Linked DNA regions of Homo sapiens: regions 1 and 2 are each linked to region 3. Evidence: promoter capture Hi-C in 16 types of primary human blood cells and fetal thymus (Javierre and others, 2016). All regions are on one chromosome and are shown on one strand. Each heading gives the region's core, a stretch centred on a gene start or on the middle of the fragment in contact. The rest is flanking DNA. Distances are from core to core; before and after follow the strand shown.

Region 1 (2,700 bases), core at 91-2,590, 2.2 Mb after region 3:
GTGCAGTGAGCTATGACCGCCCAGCCTGAGTTGACAGAGTGAGACCTTGTCTCTAAAACAACAAACATAAAAAAAAAAAAAAACCCTAAACCATCCTCTGGGTAAGTCACAAATATGAGACTAAGCTACCCCTGCTCAAAAACCTGTGTTTTCTTTTTGCTAACTGCATACAATCTAAACTCTTTTGCATTTCGCAATCTTTCATGTTGTGACCCTTTACTGTTTGACCTCCTACCTATCTCTCTTCTGTTTTCCTTGTTCCAACAATATTCAACTTCTAGTAAATATTTTTCTATGTGCCTCCATGCATTTGTACACGTTGATCCTTTTGAGTACAATGTTCTCGCTTGTTTATTTAAGTGAACTTAATCGTCCATGTCCCCCTGCCGTCTTTCTTACAGCAGCTGCAAGCAGCTTGTAAGGCTCTTTTGTAGCTTCATGTTGCATTTTGCAAAGGTCATTTTGCAGGTGGTATTTGTGTGCTTACTGTGCCTTCTATTCCAATTGTTTACTCGCAACTTTGTTTCCTGCACTGGCAGATGCCCTCCCACTCCAGAGGCCCTGTTTTCACCATTGCATCCCCAGGGCCTACCCCACCATCACTGGTTAGTAAATTGTGTGCACGCACACATTTCCTTTTTAAAGCAATGGGACCCTTTAAGAAAATGAAATAGTAAGATAACTCCTAGAGAATTTTCTAGAATGTTTGAGAAAACCTAGGCCATCTTGAAGCATATGTACGAAGCTCCACTAACTCAGCAAAGCTCCACTAACTCAGCCTTTCCTCTCATCCCCCCTCCTCTCCCCTCCCCTCAGGCTATAGTCAGAAAATTGTGGGACAGGTGCAAACAAATCCTTGAACTGTATTTGAACTGAAGTGAAACAGTAGGGTCAAAGAAGAGTTCAGAGGGAGTTGTGGAGTTGGCAGCAGCTTTACAGAGGAACTACACTGAGGGCCTGGGGACAGAACGCGGGTAGCACAGGGCACAAGGTTCAACGTCCCTGCTCCGGGACTCAAGTCACTTGGCTTCTCGAAGCCCCTGCCTTCATTTGGTGATAATCACAGAGCTTCCTTCACAGGGGGAAGAACCAACAACGCAGAGACCGTGGGAAAGAGCCCAGCCTATCGAAGGTGCTCAATGAACAGGAGCCGCGGTGAGTACTCCGCCTCTACCCCGGCTGAAGCCCGCCCCCGCCGCCACCTATTAATTTTGTAGTTTGGAGTCACCGAGTTCACCTCCTCTCATAGGAGGAGAAGGCTGGGGAGGAGGAGTGTGCGAGTCGGGGTAGCTGAACTCCCTGTTTGCCCGGAGGAGGGGGAAGGCTAGGAAGTTTCGGGCCCCACTCAAAATGGAGCCAAACGTCTGCCTCGCCTAAGATGGCGGCTTCTCCGCCTCTGGGCTCAAGGTCTTCAGCGGCGATTGGGCACCTTAAAGAGACGAGCGGGTCCAAAGGTGGCTGAGAACCGCCCTCCTTTCTCAAGGTGGCGCCCCGCCCCCCCGATGACGTCACCCGGGAGCCGGCGGCTCGCGGTTCCCCGCCTCCGCCGCGCTCACCTCGCGAGTCCAGCCCTCATAAGATGGCGGTCGCCTTGGTTGTCTGGGTAGCGCCGCCACTCTCAACATGGTAGCTGTTTATCCCGTATTTCTCCTCCCCTCTCCGCCTCAACTTCCTCATTGTTTTGAATAAACTTTATTGACTACTCCGAATTGCCTACCACCGCCACTGGGCTTCTCCCAGCGACTTTTCGGGCCGTGTGCCTCGGACGTGGCGGCCGGTTCATCTCTTTCCCCGTTGGTTTGCTCGCGAGTATCTCCTGCCGGCCCAGCGACGACGCCACTTGCCCGTTCGCCGGGCGGCCGCCAGACTAGGCCCAAGCCGCGGTCTCCAGTAGGCCCGAACGGCCGGGCCGAGGGGAATGTTGTGGAGGAGGCTGCTCTGAAGCACCGTTGAGCGGCTGGCGCCGCGCGACCCAGCGGGGGGCTCGAGGGGAAGGCGAGCGAGGTTCCCGGCGGTACGGGGACTATCCCAGAATTCGACGCGCGTCGCCGTAGGGGCCGGAACTACCGGACGAGCCTCCGCTGAGGCGCTTCGCAGTCCCGGAGCTAGCCCGGCTGCCGGCGTGTCGCTGGGGCTGAGCTCCGCGGGCGTGGAGTCCTTGCAGCCCAAAGCATGAGGAGGTCCCTGTAGGATTCTGGACTGAAGACGTTCTTGTCAGGTTTGGGGCGTGAGGAGGTTCCTGTCAGTTGGGGAAGCGTTAAGATTCCTGTAAGTTTTGGGGGCTGCGAGGCTATTACTGTCAGTTTTAGGATATACTGTGAGGTACCTGAACATTTGGGGAGACTAGGGAGCTCTCATCAGTTTGAGGGGGGGCTGCAAGGAAACGCTGCCAGTTTCCGAGCGATGCAAAAGAATCCTTGCTTAGTTTCGGGAGTGTGAGGAAATTCTAGTCAGTTTGAGGGGTTTTGAATAGATCCTTTTGAGTTTCAGGGATGCAGCCAGAACCCTGTCATCTTTAAAGTACAGAACGAGCTGGTCAGTTTAGAGATTTATATTTATTTCAGTTTTGGGGGTGATGAGACTCCTGACTGGTCGGGGAAGGAATGATATTGAGAGTGATGGAAAGGATTATTTAAACTCTCCGAACACGACCCCAGAACTGTGATTTGAGTTGGGCGCCTAGTCTTGTCTGTCTTGTTC
Region 2 (2,700 bases), core at 133-2,632, 2.0 Mb after region 3:
CTTGTTTTCTGCTTTATTCCTGCTGAAAGAGTGGGCCGGCCCTAAAAGCCAGAAAGAAGACAGGCACTGCATCTGTTTCATCTCAGTATGTTGAAAATACATTTTTCAAAAGATTATGACTCCATACATCTGAAATTAGAGCCCTTGCAGCTATTTAGAAAAGCTCCCGACAGACTAAAACACAATGAAGTTTGGAAACCAAAGGCCCTAACCATAGGACATAGTGGATCTAGGAGTACCAAAAAGGTACAATTTGTAATGTAATTTGTGTTGGTAATTATCTCCCTGCCCAAAGAGATGCTGAGGGCAAGGATATTCGATTTAACTTTGTCTCTGCATTGCCTTAGGCAAGTAAATAATGTAAGTTTCTTTTTATTTATTTATTTATTTTTGAGACGGAGTCTGGCTCTGTCACCAGGCTGGAGTACGGTGACATGATTTTGGCTCACTGCAACCTCCGCCTCCCAGGTTCAAGCGATTCTCCTGCCTCAGCTTCCCCAGTAGCTGGGATTACAGGCACGTGCCACCACGCCCGGCTACTTTTTGTATTTTTAGTAGAGACGGGGTTTCACCATGTTGGCCAGGATGGTCTCGATCTCCTAACCTCGTGATCTGCCCGCCTCGGAGGGATTACAGGCGTGAGCCACCGCGCCCGACCAGTTACGTCTTTCTTAATTGGGACCAACAGCTCTTTAAATATTATCTTTCCACTAAGGGGAAAATCCTCCCTCCTGGGGAGTTTTAGCTCACTTTAGCTGAATTCAGTCAATCCACTCTAACTTCCATTCCCATGATGCATCAATCCATCCCCCAAAACTCTTTTTCCAGGAAAAAGCAGTAAATAACCTAAGCAACTCAGTGAGATGCAAGGAGTTGGAGTGCAACTCCTAAACACTCATCATCACGCCCCGCTTCCTGTGACCCTGTGAGCACAAGGGCTGAGAAGGGTGGTAGTCTGGTTCCTCGACTATATCCTAAGGCCATAGAGAAGACTACAACTACCAAGATGCCCCTCTCCCCGCCCCGCCCCGCCCCTCCTCGCTCCCCTTCCTCCAGCTAGAAAGCGTGTACCACCGAGAAGACGAGGCAACATGGCTCCCGGAGGTGGAAGAAAGAGGCTTCACCCCTTCTAAAGCGGGAAGAAGAGCGGCCGGAAAGGAGAAAAAAGAGAAGTGACTAGAGCCCATCCTCGCTTTTATCCTCCCAGCCTCTCCCGGGTCCGGTCTGCCCCTCCCCTTCTCTCTACCCAAATCCAATTTGTGGTCTCCTCCCCTCCCCGCCCTCATTCCCTCGCTTCCTCACCCCTCCCCTCGGGAATCCTTTTCCCGCCCCCCCTCGCCCCCCGCGGAGTGCGCACGCGCCCGCCCCCAGCTTCGCGCCCAGATCGTCGCCTATCCTGCTTGCGCAGCCGCTATCGCGTCTGCCCACCGACGAAGCATGGGTGTCCAGGGCTTCCAAGAGTTCCTGGAGAAGCGCTGTCCCGGGGCCGTGGTGCCCGTGGACCTCCTAAAACTCGCGCGCACGGTCTCGCGCCAGCAGCAGCAGCAGCACTTGCACCGCCAGCTGCCGCCGACTGCAGCCCTAGCGCCCGGGGCTCCACGCGCCGCCAGGGGCTCCGTGCCTCTGCAACCGCCGCTTCCGCCCGCTGCCTTGGGTGCCTACTCCGGGGGCGCGGGGCCGACTCGGCACCATCACCCCGCTCACCACTTCCACCATCATGGCCAAGCGCAGCCCGGGCTGCACCCTCCGCTGCCGCCGCCGCCGCCCCCTCAGCTGCCCGGGGCCCGGGTGCTGGTGGACGCCGGCTCGGCGCTGCCGCGGCTCTATGGCGGCTACCAGACGGATTGGGTGTGTGGCGGCCAATGGAACGCCATGCTGGGCTACTTGTCAGCGCTGTGCCAGGCTTGTGCCTATCCTGGCGGCGACGGCCTGGAGCTCGTGGTCATGTTCCCGGGGGGCCTGGGCAAGGACCGGCTGGCCGAGTGGGGCCGTCGGTGCCAGGCCGAGCGGCAGACAGCGCAACTGATCGTGGGACACGTGGGCAACAAGGGCACCCCTCCACCGCGGGCCTGGTTCCTGCCACCGGCCTGCCTGAGCCACTGCGTGAGGCTAGCACTCATCCGCTTCCGGGTCAAGGTGAGGGAGGGGCCGGATCTTAAATAATAAGCCCCACACCTATTCCCTCCCAACTAAATACCTAACCACCTACCCACTTACCCACTACCCTACCTCCCATCTACCCACCCACCTACCCGCCCAACAGCTAACCTACCTGCCTAACTACCCTCTACCATTTTATCCATTTACCTCCCCCTTCATACCACCCCCTACGGATTCACTCACCTACATGGCCATATCTCTACTCATGTCATCCCAGTAGCTCCCTTTAGCTTCCCTTATCCAATTGGCCTACCACTAGGTTTCAGCAGAATCTAGTCAGAATTTCTTTTGTAGCCTCATCTTTCTCCTGGTGTCTTCTGCCTCAAACTGAAATGCCTTTACCCTGCTTTTGCCAGTTGACATCTCTCTCCTGTATCTCTTTCCAACCTCGCAGTAAATCACTTAAGCAGGTGTGAACTGAACACCTTTCTTCTACATTGTTTTTCCGTCTTCACCCACTGCTGCTTTTTTACCCATCTGTGTCCATTCAGCCTTTTTCATTTCAACATGCATCTTCTTCCTCCTGCCTTAGCCTAAACA
Region 3 (2,700 bases), core at 163-2,662:
TTCTCTAGGTACCCGCTATGGCTTCAGGGGGTTACCTGGGAGCTTTGGCCTTGTGAATCCTGTTCTCTCTGGTTGTGACTTTGGCTGTGTGGGGTTAAGTCAAAGACAATCCTTACCGCTTAAGGAGTATTGGGAGTGCCGAGCCAGGGGAGACTAGACTAGACAAATCCATCCATTCTTGCCCCCTTTCACTTCTTCCACCAAGCTCTCTCCTCTCCTTCTTGGCCTTTCTTTGCCCAGCCCTTTAGCAAAGTCATTTTCCCTTGAGTTTCATTTGATTCCACATAGTGTTCTTAACCTTCCGCTCCCGCCCCCACTGCTGAAACCCCAAGTGGGGTGTGTGGGGGGAGCAGGGGGACTGGGAGGGGGATAGAATCTAGACGAAAGAGGTGGGAGTGGGTGGGTATTAGTCCCAGAGTCACTTACCGACCATGTCACTAGCTGAGGACTCCTGAAGTGTCCAGAACTCATGCCGTCCTCCGGGAGGCTCATACTCCTGAGCTGATCGCAAGAGAGCTGTTCCCCTCACACCCGCCCCATTCTGACATAGCGCAGGGCGACGCGTTCTCGTCTTCTCGTTCTTGGGCCCCCACTCCCCTATTTCTCCGGGCTGGAAAATGAGGAGGGGGTCGAAAGGGGAGGGAGTCGATTCAGACCCAGCTGGGCCACTCTCGGAACAAGGGAAACAAAGCTCTCAAGCATCCAACCCAAAAATCAGGGGCCGGCAGAGTAGACTTCCTAAAAAGAATCCTCCCCCCTGCAGCTTTTCCTTGGACAAAAATAAAGTGGGTTCGCTGGGCCGAAGTGGCCAGAGCTTAAGGTCCTCCGTTCCCCTTTTACCTCTACCAATTCAGTTCCGGCCAAGCCCGCTCTCCACCCATCCTCTGAACTCCACACACCCTTTAAAAGGAGAGGGCCGGGGGTGGGGGCTATGAAAACCAACCCAACCCCCAAAGCGCTACTTGAACATAAAGTTGAGGCGGAGAAGAAATCCTTCAAGACAGGAACCCACGAGGAGATACCACAAGAGGATCCCTTCACCGCCGCCGTTGCCGCCGCACACCCCAGCGCCTTCCTAAAAAGAAAGAAGGGAGGAAAAAAATGCCGACGATTGGTAGAATCATAGAGAAGAACACCAGCCCCAGGGCAGGGGCTTCAGCGAAAAATGGCAGCAACTCGTGCGGGTCCTCTGGGGCGGGGTTTCTTGGAGGCACCTAGCTGCCCCACGGGGTACCTCGCGCCCCACGCGAGTCAGAACCTAAAGTGCTCTCTGGGCAACCTGAGTGGGTAGAGTGATTCCGTCTTTCTCTGGCCCTGCTAGGCCCAAAGGAGAGGTGTGACTATCGTGAGGACTCCACCTAGGGTGGAGTTCCTTAAAAAGGACAGGCGGCCGCTAGAGGAGAGTGCAAAGTGGGAGGAGGTGGAGAAGGGTGGGGCTGAGAAGGAGGAGGGAGGAAGGAGGGGGTGGGGCGGGGCCCTGGGCCGACAGAGCTGGCCTCGCCTCCGGCGGCCGCCTCCCTCAGCCTCCAGCAGCGGCAGGTATAATTCCAATCAATTTCACTTCCTTATCTGTCCCAAAATTAAGGCTTGCAAGCACACTGCTTGATTACCTATTTACTCCGGTTATGCTAATTCTCCAGGGGAGGGTGGTGAAACGGGTACTGGGATTGGGGCTGGGGGCTGTCTAAGAGGGAAAGGAGAAAACAAAAAAGCTGACAACTGGAAGCGATATTTATCCTCCTACCTCTCCATGGTAACACGAACAAGGACAGCGAGGTCACAGTGTCTTCTCAGGGAGGAAGCTAAAAGGAACGGAGATTGGAGCTTGGTGCATTTTCTAGCAAGAGATAAGCCAAGGAGGTGAGGGCGAAGGAGTAGGTGGGGAAGAAGAAGGAGTTGAAGATGATCTGTGAATACAGCGTGGCCCAGCAGGGAGACTTAAGAAAGGCTTTCTCAGTCTCCCAGATACCAGACCTCTAAGAATAGAGTTCTCAACCCCCTGAGACCGCCTCTCAGCCAGGCATTGGCGAAGATCCCCGTAAAGCTGAATCCACAGGATAGGAGCCATGTTTCCAGGATTTCTTTACGCTTGCCTGAAAGTCTCTCTCTAGCTCATTTTAATGGGAGGCCAGGAAGTCACAAGCAACCACAGCCCATTTTCAGTGCCTCTTCCCTACCACAATTCTTTTAAAGAGGAGGAAAAAGAAGAGAGACAAGAAACAAAGCAGAGGGAGGAAGAGCAAAGAGACAGGAGAAATAATAATATCTGCCATGTATTCAGCACCTAATATGGGCAAGTCCCTGAGCCAGGTGCTTTTACATTCAACATTTCCCCATTTAGTCCCAATAACAACCCTGGGAACTAGGTACTGTTATATTCTCTGTGCCCTTTATTTAAAAAAATAAGGAAACGGAAGGCCTCAGCCCAGTACTTTCGAACACATAGGTCTACTTACTTAGTTGATATTTCTGCCTGAATGTCTTCTGTGCATCTCATCTACCTTCCTTTCCCCAAAACACTCTGTTCTTCCTCCTGTAGTTCACCAACTACCTGAATGGCACCACCATACATCCAAGGCAGCACCCTGGAACTCATCCTTTAACCTGCTGTGATCTGGCCTTTGTCTGCCTCTCAAGCAGCAGAGATTTTGCTGTTCTCCTGGGCTTTACCTGGATTACAAATCCCTGGGAATTCCAAGC

The links. Contacts are between HindIII fragments. The CHiCAGO score rates a contact against its expected background, and 5 or more counts as called.
Region 1: a contact is called between a fragment that was not itself captured here and the fragment with the promoter of KLF8 in region 3, in 1 of 17 cell types (M0 macrophages). The highest score is 7.0, in M0 macrophages.
Region 2: the fragment with the promoter of FAM120C here is called in contact with the fragment with the promoter of KLF8 in region 3 in 1 of 17 cell types (M2 macrophages); the score reaches 9.7 in M2 macrophages.

The regions. Positions count from the first base shown.
Region 1 is chrX:54,043,330-54,046,029 of GRCh38, reverse strand. PHF8 (PHD finger protein 8) reads left to right here and starts at 1,557. Exons shown (of 22, transcript NM_015107.3): 1 at 1,557-2,268. RefSeq lists enhancers at 966-1,425, 1,636-1,885 and a silencer at 1,446-1,615. The HindIII fragment of the contact is 3,125 bases long and covers 1-2,700 here.
Region 2 is chrX:54,181,936-54,184,635 of GRCh38, reverse strand. It overlaps FAM120C (family with sequence similarity 120 member C), which reads left to right and starts at 1,382. Exons shown (of 16, transcript NM_017848.6): 1 at 1,382-2,136. The coding sequence starts at 1,438. RefSeq lists silencers at 950-1,049, 1,620-1,829, 1,840-1,889. The HindIII fragment of the contact is 3,156 bases long and covers 1-2,700 here.
Region 3 is chrX:56,231,068-56,233,767 of GRCh38, reverse strand. KLF8 (KLF transcription factor 8) reads right to left here and starts at 1,412. Exons shown (of 6, transcript NM_007250.5): 1 at 427-1,412. The coding sequence starts at 433. The HindIII fragment of the contact is 3,283 bases long and covers 2-2,700 here.